Linked DNA regions of Homo sapiens: all the other regions are linked to region 1. The links are contacts of gene promoters, found by promoter capture Hi-C in blood cells and fetal thymus (Javierre and others, 2016). All regions are on one chromosome and are shown on one strand. Each heading gives the region's core, a stretch centred on a gene start or on the middle of the fragment in contact. The rest is flanking DNA. Distances are from core to core; before and after follow the strand shown. Region 1 holds the start of THUMPD2 (THUMP domain 2 tRNA and snRNA guanosine methyltransferase). Region 2 overlaps MAP4K3 (mitogen-activated protein kinase kinase kinase kinase 3). Region 3 overlaps MAP4K3 (mitogen-activated protein kinase kinase kinase kinase 3).

The links. Contacts are between HindIII fragments. The CHiCAGO score rates a contact against its expected background, and 5 or more counts as called.
Region 2: a fragment that was not itself captured here is called in contact with the fragment with the promoter of THUMPD2 in region 1 in 2 of 17 cell types (naive B cells and erythroblasts); the score reaches 6.5 in naive B cells.
Region 3: a contact is called between a fragment that was not itself captured here and the fragment with the promoter of THUMPD2 in region 1, in 1 of 17 cell types (total B cells). The highest score is 5.1, in total B cells.

The regions. Positions count from the first base shown.
Region 1 is chr2:39,777,876-39,780,883 of GRCh38, forward strand. It overlaps THUMPD2 (THUMP domain 2 tRNA and snRNA guanosine methyltransferase), which reads right to left and starts at 1,383. Exons shown (of 10, transcript NM_025264.5): 1 at 1,239-1,383. The coding sequence starts at 1,364. The HindIII fragment of the contact is 5,327 bases long and covers 1-3,008 here.
Region 2 is chr2:39,373,623-39,376,630 of GRCh38, forward strand. All of the region lies in intron 2 of MAP4K3 (mitogen-activated protein kinase kinase kinase kinase 3), which reads right to left. Among named protein-coding and RNA genes, the nearest start is that of MAP4K3, 62 kb to the right of the region's middle. The HindIII fragment of the contact is 2,715 bases long and covers 170-2,884 here.
Region 3 is chr2:39,395,528-39,398,535 of GRCh38, forward strand. All of the region lies in intron 1 of MAP4K3 (mitogen-activated protein kinase kinase kinase kinase 3), which reads right to left. Among named protein-coding and RNA genes, the nearest start is that of MAP4K3, 40 kb to the right of the region's middle. The HindIII fragment of the contact is 2,288 bases long and covers 367-2,654 here.

The DNA of each region.
Region 1 (3,008 bases), core at 133-2,632:
TAATCCTACATATTAATTGGGCCAAGCTCTCTCTCTCTTTCATACCAAGCACTCTAAGTTAGCATTTAAAAAAACAAGCCAGCGCACCCCTATGTCATGGTCATATAGTGGGCCTGGTTTGAACATGATTATATACTCATTCTTGATTTCCCAGCTCGGGTTTGAATCCCATCTTTGCGATTTTCTAGTTGCATGACTTGAATAAATTCTCGGACTTACCTGTGCTTCATTTTTCTCATCTGTTAAATGTGGAACACCTACCTTATAGGGCTGTTGTGAAAAGTACGCAAATAAATATAGGGTAAAGATCTAAGAACATGTGCCTGACACATATTAAATGTTCAATAAATGTCAGTAGTTATTATATATTGATGCTTTTTAAGATTAGCTACATTCAATACTCTATTAAATTCTGTGACCCAAAACACAAGTGGCAGGTAGTCTAACAAAACTGACATAATTCTTCACGACTCCAACCTTTCACTGCAGAAACTCCTTTTGTGGGCTTCCCACACTGTAGGAGCTGCCAGGGTGGAGGGGTTAATTTCATTTAGGAAGCTCTCCTTTTCCAAGAGTACATCACTCACAGTGTCCCATACACCCCATCAAGATACCTTTTCTATTATACCTTCATCCCCTACTTTCAAGAAACCAGTTTTCAACATTCTAAAACCTAAACCGATGCTTAAAACCTTGTTCATTTCACAGAAATCAATAACAGATAACTATGAGGCCTGCAAGAGTATATTATTTTTCTGGCTGCTATTTACTGCGTGTTTAAAGTGTACTTTGCATACGCTATATAATTTAATTCTCACAACAATCCTATGTAGTCAAATACAATCACTGTCAAGAAACTAACAAAAAGTCAGGTAACTGAACTTGGAGATTATGTTTGCATTTAAAGAGCGAAGGGTTCTAACTCTGACAGGCCAGATTCTAATTACAGGCACTACTTACTACTTTAAAGAATCCAGGAAATAACTTGCCTCAACACCTCTCTTAAAAACTTGAGCCCTGAGAAGTGAGGAACTGGATTTGCTATACAAGGAAAGAAAGGAATGGTGGCTTCTCTCGGCCGGAGCGGAAGCGCCTGCCAGTCAACCTCGGGGGTCGGCGACCGTCGCGTGGAACAGAGAGGGGCGCCAGCGACGCTTTCCCGCGTCCACGACTGGGGTGGGCAACAGGGCAGGGACAGGGCCGCCCACCTCCCCAGGCGCGCAGCGAGGCCAACTCACCTGCGTGGCCGCCAGCCGCGCCCGCACCTCTCGCATTACGAACGGCTCCAGGCCGCGACCCGCAGTGCAGAAGAATCGGGCGCCAGCCTCAGGCCCGGACCCTGGCTCTCCACGCGCCTCCGACATGGCGGCTCAGGCGCGCCCTCGCGCCTTCGGGTCACGTGGCCTCGGGCGCGAGCGGCTCGCTCCTGGAGGCGGCGCGCAGGGGCGTGTGATGCCAAAGGGGAGAGGGAGAGGGAGAGGGAGAGGGGGAGGGGGAGAGGGAGGGGGAAGGAGAGGGTGAGAGAGACGGAGAGCCTGGGAGGGTCGCATCAGCCCTCTGTGGCCCCTATGGGTCTTCCTGGTTGACCATCTGTCCCCTCCTTGATTAGGCACCAGAATGGGTTAGAATCACAGGTGGAAGGGTTAGAATTGATAATTCAGTCCAGTTGCCTTATTTTGTAGATTGAGGAAATTAATGCCCAGAGAGGTCAAGAGACAGCGAGTTAGCAGCACAGCTGAGGCTGGAGCCTAGATTTCTCCCTATCTAACATAATGCCTTTTCCTCCATTCCTCCCAACTCCGTCCTCTTCCTGTCCTTCATTCCTCTCCTCTACTCTTCTCATAGAAGGAGCCCTGGTCTGTTTTCACAAAGAATCGGGCCAAACGTTGGAATCTCCAGGACGGAGAGCAGAAGTTCCTGTTCTCTAACAAACGTCTGCGTTCTGAAACAGCTCATATTTCTTGCACTACTTAGTTAACCATCCAGCCATAGATGAATCAATGTGCCATCTAGTTTTGGGCACCTGATTTGAATGGTTCTCCTAACGGTATTTGAAGGCATTTTTCTAAACTCTGAATTTTAAAATGGAAATGAAAATATTACTTGGGAAGCATAGACAGAATCCATGTTACAAGATAAACAGCGTGAAATTAGCTCTGTAGCTGTATATTGAGTCAGTTATACAGAAATGATAAATGCATGTGTGTCTCTGACAAGGGGCTGTCCTGTGCTTCAGAATGGGATGTTAAGGTGAAGAACTGATACTCCCTCACCTCCCCCGACACTCCCACACACACCCCCGCCCCCACCCAGCTCATGCTCTACTGGGCCGTACAGTAAAAATTCTTCATGGAGTCACATAACATGAGCTTTTCCAAGGTTCAGTCCTAAGACTCTTCTGATGCTGCTTTTTATTTTTTATTTTTTGCGACAGGGTCTCCCTCTGTCGCCCAGGCTGGAGCGCAGTGACGTGATCTTGGCTCACTGCAGCCTCCACCTCCTGAGCTCCAGTAATCCTCCCACCTCAGCCTGTCCAGTAGCTGGGACCACAGGCAAGCCCCACCACACCGGGCTAATTTTTGTATTTTTTGTAGAGAAGGGGTTTCACCATGTTGGCCAGGCTGGTCTCGAACTCCTGAGATCAAGCGATCCGCCTGCCTCGGCCTCCCAAAGTGCTGGGATTACAGGCACCCAGCCCTCACACACTACCGTTTTGATGAATTCTTTTCTTGCCCTCAGACACATGTTTTCCTTTTCTGGGCTACTGCCGTAGTTCATTTTAACTTCTCTATACTTTGGGGTTCTGACTGTCAAGTCTGTCTGGGGAGGACAGGAACCCTCTTTAGTTCTCTCTACATTCTGTGCCCAAGATGTTAAGTATGCAGATAGGATGCATTCCATTCAGTTCAACAAATACTGAACACCTATTCTCCGCCAGTCACCACCCTGTCTTGAGGATTCAAAGATGGGTAAGCAAGGGTTTGGACTTCAAGGGCTTAGAGGATGGT
Region 2 (3,008 bases), core at 277-2,776, 400 kb before region 1:
CTGCCATTTGCAACAACATGGGTGGAACTGGAAGTCATTATGTTAAGTGATATAAACCAGGCACAGAAAGACAAACATCACATGTTCTCATTTATCTGTGGGAGCTAAAACTCAAAACAATTGAACTTAAGGAGATAGAGAGTAGAAGCATGGTTACCATAGGCTGGGAAGCTTACAGGGCTTGGTGGGGGGGTAGAAGGGATTTGGAGATGGTTAATTGGTACAAAAAATTAGAAAGAATGAATAAGCCCTAGTATTTGCAAGCACAACAGGGTGACTTTAGTAACAACAACAACAAAAAATCCAATCATACATTTTAAAATAACTGGAAGAGTATAACTGGTCTGTTTGAAACACAAAGGATAAATACTTGAGATGACAGATATCCATCTACCCTGGTGTGATTATTATGCATTGCGTGTCTGTATCAAAATAGCTCATGTAACCCAGAAATATATATGCCTACTATGTACCCACGAAAATTAAAAATGGCTCACATCTGTAATCCCAGTACTTTGGGAGGCCCAGGCAGGCGGATCACTTGATGCCAGGAGTTTGAGGCCATCATGGCCAACAGGATGAAACCTTGTCTCTACTAAAAATACAAAAATTAGCCAGGCATGGTGGTGCATGCCTGTAATTCCAGCTATTCATGAAGATTGCTTGAACCCGGAGGCGGAGGTTGCAGTGAGCCAAGATCACACCACTGCCTGGGTGACAGAGCGAGACTCTATCTCAAAACAATAAAAAATAAAAATTAAAATTAAAAATAAATTAGGCCAGGTTCGGTGGTTCACGCTTGTTAACCCAGCACTTTGGGAGGCAGAGGCGGGTGGATCACCTGAGGTCAGGAATTCAATACCAGCCTGCCCAACACAGTGAAACCCCGTCTCTACTAAAAATACAAAAATTAGCCGGGCGTGGTGGTGCACCCCTGTAATCCCAGCTACTCGGGCAGCTGAGGCAGGAGAATCACTTGAACCTGGGAGGCAGAGGTTGCAGTAAGCTGAGATCGGGCCACTGCACTCCAGCCTGGGCAACAGAGCAAGACTCCATCACAAATTAAAAAAAAATTAAACAAAATTTTTTAAATTTTTTAAATTTAAAGCTGCATAATTAAGATGAGAAGCAACAGTCAGACACCTTGGAGTAACTTCACATTTAAACAATTTGGTCAAAAGGTCTGCGTAAGTTTTTATTTTGCTTCAGGTTCAAATTGCTTATCAGCTGTAAAAAAAGGAAAAAGGAACAAACTCTAGACAGAAATTCTTAAAATCCAACATGTTGCACTAGACTATTTCAGACTTAATTTTTGTTTCCAAAAAATGGAAGACTAGCCATCAAAAACTCTAATTTAGGCCAGACATAGTGGCTCATGCTTGTAATCCTAGCAGTTTGGAAGGCCGAGGTGAGAGGTCTCTTGAGACCAGGTATTCAAGAGCAAACTGGGCAATATAGTGAGACCCTGTCTCTACAAAAAATAAAAATTAGCTGGGTGTCATGTCATACGCCTGCAGTCCTAGCTACTTGGGAGACTGAGGTAGAAGTATACCATGAGCCCAGGAGATCAAGACTGCAGTGAGCCACGATCCTACCACTGCACTCCAGCCTGGGCTACAGTGACACTGTCTCTTAAACACACACACACCCCTCTACCTTAGAAAAATGTGAGCGTAACACCACTCGTGAAGTAGTTCCCTCCTCCATACCCCAAATAAAACCGGAGTCTACTCAGTTCTCTAGAGATATCTATCAAGTCACCAAAGAATATATTACATGATGCTACAACAAGGCAATCAGCAAAATCTGGACTGGGGGGGAACTTTACAGGATAAATGATCGAGTTACTTCCACAGAAAATTACAAGGAAAAAAGATAAAAAGAAATTAAGTGGGAACCTATAGATATAACGTAGCAACTATTTGCTAAGCGTAGGTCTTATTAATAAAGAACTGTAATGTTGTTAATGGTTGTAGTTACGTATCTTTAATAATTTTATTAAGGCATACGTTTAAATTGGATAGTTCAGCAATTTCAAGTGTATAATTCAATGGTGCTTTTAGTAAATTTACCAAGTTGTACAACCATCACTAGATTATTCCCATAAGACCCTTCACGTACAATAATTGTTAGTCCACCTCGTCCCCAGCTCACCAGATTAACTTTCTGACACCACAGATTTGCCTTTTCTGAACCTTTCACATGGAATCATACAGTATGCAGTTTTGTGTGTCTAGCTCCTTTCACTTAGCACGTTTTGGTCACCTATGTTACAGCATGCTATCAGCAACTTGTTTTTATTGTTGAATAGTATTCAATTGTATGAACACAACATATTCATTCACCAGTTGATGGGCAGTTAGACTGTTTCCAATTTTGAGACATACTGTGAATAATGCTACTATAAACATTTGTGCATGACAATCATTGTGTCGGCAGATATGCAAGAGTAGAATTGCTGGGTCATTATGGCAAATTTATGTTTAACACTTTAAGGAAGTGACAAACTGTTTTCCAAAGTGGTTGCACCATTTTACATTTCCACCAGCTGTGTATGAGGGTTCCTGTTTGTGATTACACTTTTTGAGTATTTATACTTTAGGCATATACACAGAAATACTATGGGCTGGAATTTTATGATTGAGGGATCAAAATAACTGGTGGCGGGGGGAAATGGGTAGCTGTAATAGAGGAAACATATTTATGGTGATTAACCTTTGTTTTCTCTGGGTGGCAGAATATGAATGATTTTTATTTTTTTCCTTTTGTATAGTTGTATATTCTACTTTTATTACATTGATCAATATACACATGGCAGTGTCCAAGACTGACAGTGCAACAACTTGAACATTTCATGAACAGAAAATAATTGACTTGAACAGTAAGCTTTTTCAAGTTTTTAATTTTTTAAGGAAATTTTAAGATGTACAGAATGAGTACTATGTGCCAGGCCCTAAGCTCAGTGCTGGGGGCACAAATTTGATTAAAACTTAGAAACAAAGAAAGGC
Region 3 (3,008 bases), core at 261-2,760, 380 kb before region 1:
AGCTCCCTTTCTCACTATTAGGGTAAGCTAATTTGTCTTCCTGCTTACTGCTTTTGTTCTTTTGGGATGAATGTAATTTCCCAAATATAAGACACTCCTGTTATCCTATTTATCCATTACCATTTACTGTGACATAACAAAACTTTGTTTACTAAAACCTACTATAGCGCTCTACATTTCAATTTTCAATTTTCTCACACTCATTATTCAAAGAATCAGACACTCAAATATGCTACATTATAAAGGGCTCTGGAAAACACTATCAAATAATTCTTTCCATCTGTTTAGTTAAAAGGAGGGGGAGAAACTGAGATTTCAATTACTCTTCAAAATATTTTGATATGTATGCTTTATTTGAAGCCTGAAAGCTTCAGTATACAAAAGACTAGAGCTGTTAAAAAGTTCAGGATGATAGATACAGTATTCATTATGTAGAATATATGTATACTTAAATATTAAAATATCAGGAAAAGGGGAAGGGAAATACAGGTTTGGTTTTTGGGGTTTTTTGTTTGTCTGTTTGTTTTGAGACAAGATCTCACTCTGTTGCACCAGCTGGAATGTAGTGGCATCATCATAGCTCACTGCAGCCTCTTAACTCCTGGGCTCAAACAATCTTCCTGCCTCGGACTCCGGAGCAGTTGGAACTACAGGCATGCACCACCACACCTGGCTAATTTTTAAATTTTTTAATGTAGAAATGGGGTCTCACGATGTTGCTCAGGCTGGTCTCAAACTCCTGACCTCAAGTGATCCTCCCACCTCGACCTCATGAAGTGTTGGGATTATAGGTGAGCCACTGCACCCGGCCTACAAGTATTTGTATACCAATAGCTTAATATTCCATAGTCCACTTAGGTAAAATAAGATAAAAGACAATTCAGTTTACATTTCTGAACTTCTACCAATATCTTTTACTCAAGACAATGTGCTTTAACTTCAAGCCCCCAATTTTTTTTTTTTTTTTTTTTAAGCAGAGTCTCACTTTGTCGCCCAGGCTGGAGTGCAATGGCTTGGCTCATTGCAAGCTCCGCCTCCTGGGTTCACGCCATTCTCCTGCCTCAGCCTCCCAAGTAGCTGGGACTACAGGCGCCCGCCACTACGCCCGGCTAATTTTTCGTATTTTTAGTACAGACGGGGTTTCACCCTGTTAATCAGGATGGTCTCGATCTCCTGACCTTGTGATCCGCCCGCCTCGGCCTCCCAAAGTGCTGGGATTACAGACGTGAGCCACCGCGCCCAGCCCCAAATTTTTAACTTATGAAAGTTTTTCATAAAACCATTTTAGCAAAAATACTAGCCCAGAAACAGCATCTCTCTTCACCTCTTATAAGAGACCAAAGAGTCATTCTTACTATCTAAGGTAAATACATCTCAATTTAAGAGATCTATTACTTGATCTAAAAGACCATTTGCTTTTGAATCATTTAGTAGTATGTACTGACTATTACTGGACTTAGCTAAGTTGTAACACATACCAATAAGTGGCTGGATTTCACATCACCCCTGCCACAATAAATGACAACTTTTCATCAATTTAAAAACTTGAAATTTCAAGTCAAAATAAAGAAATGATTCTTTTTAAACTTGCTGAGGTTCATCATGCTACATATCTAAACCAGTAAAAATGGATAGTGTAATGTCTCTCAACCAAGACTTTGGTACTAAAAAAAAATCCTATATAGTACTCACCAACTCCATAAAATGTGCTTTAAAACAATATTAAGAATTAGTGACTACAAACATAAGAGAATTCAGTAAGATAGTAACCTATGAAAAGAATATACAAAGATCAATAATCTTCATATATACAACATATTATAATACAAACAACAGCAAAAATAAAGACTTCATTTCCAATAGCAACTAAATATTTGTATATTTTCACTTAATCACAAATGTGCAAACTTAAAGAAAACTTCAAAAACCTTTAAAGAAATGAAAGTAGAATTGAATGAAGAGAAAGTTATAATCATATTCTTAGAGAGGCTAAACATCATAAAGGTATCAACTCTTCTTAAGATATTAAAATTCATACAAACCCAATAAAAGTATCAATTTTTTTCCTCCAGGAACTAGAAAGGCTGATTCTAAAGATCTTATTGAAAAATAAACAAGCAGTAATTGCCAGGAAAACTCTGAAAATGAAGAGCAATGAGAAAACAGCTCTAACAATATAACTTTATATGGCCTCAAGAACTAAAAGTATACGAGTGGCAAATGAATAGACAGACCAGTGGGACAAAATACAAAGTCCGGAAATACACCCATATAAAGAATTCTTAGAAACAGAGGAGATAATCCAATGAAAAAATGGACAAGTATGTGAAAAAGAAAAGAAATACAAATGGCCCTTGAATATATGATAAGCTGAAAACAGAAATGCAAACAAAAAATATACAGTGAGATAGTGTTTCTTATCAGATTGGCAAAATCTGATTTAAGTCCAACCACTTGTCAAGCTGTAGGGAAAGGGGGGGCATTCCAAGGACCCTCATATATTGCTGCTGAAATGCAAAATGCAAGATATATATACAGGGAATCCAATAATATCAATCAAAATTACAGACGCATGTACCCTTTCACCTAGCAAACACCCTTCTAGGAAACGAAACCATCACGAAACCTACATACATAAGAAATACACATGTACAAGCTTAATCAGTATGAAATTGCCTGTTAATAGCAAAAGACTGAACAAATTCAAGTGCAAAAGGACTGGCTGAATTAACTACAGCATATACCAACAAACGAATACTATATAGTAAAAAAAGAAAAAAAAAGATAAGGAAGGTCTTTATATACTGACTGATATAACGAGAGAGCTCCATGGAATAAAAATAAAGAAACCAGGGTGCAAAGTATTAGTGTGAATTAGCCTTTTGCATAAAGTCTAAAGGAATAAACAGAAATTAACAAAAATTAATAAAAATACAGTTAGTAATACATAAAATGAACTAAGGAGAAGGGACAGATGGGGATGGGTGGGAAACAAGACTTCTCAGGGG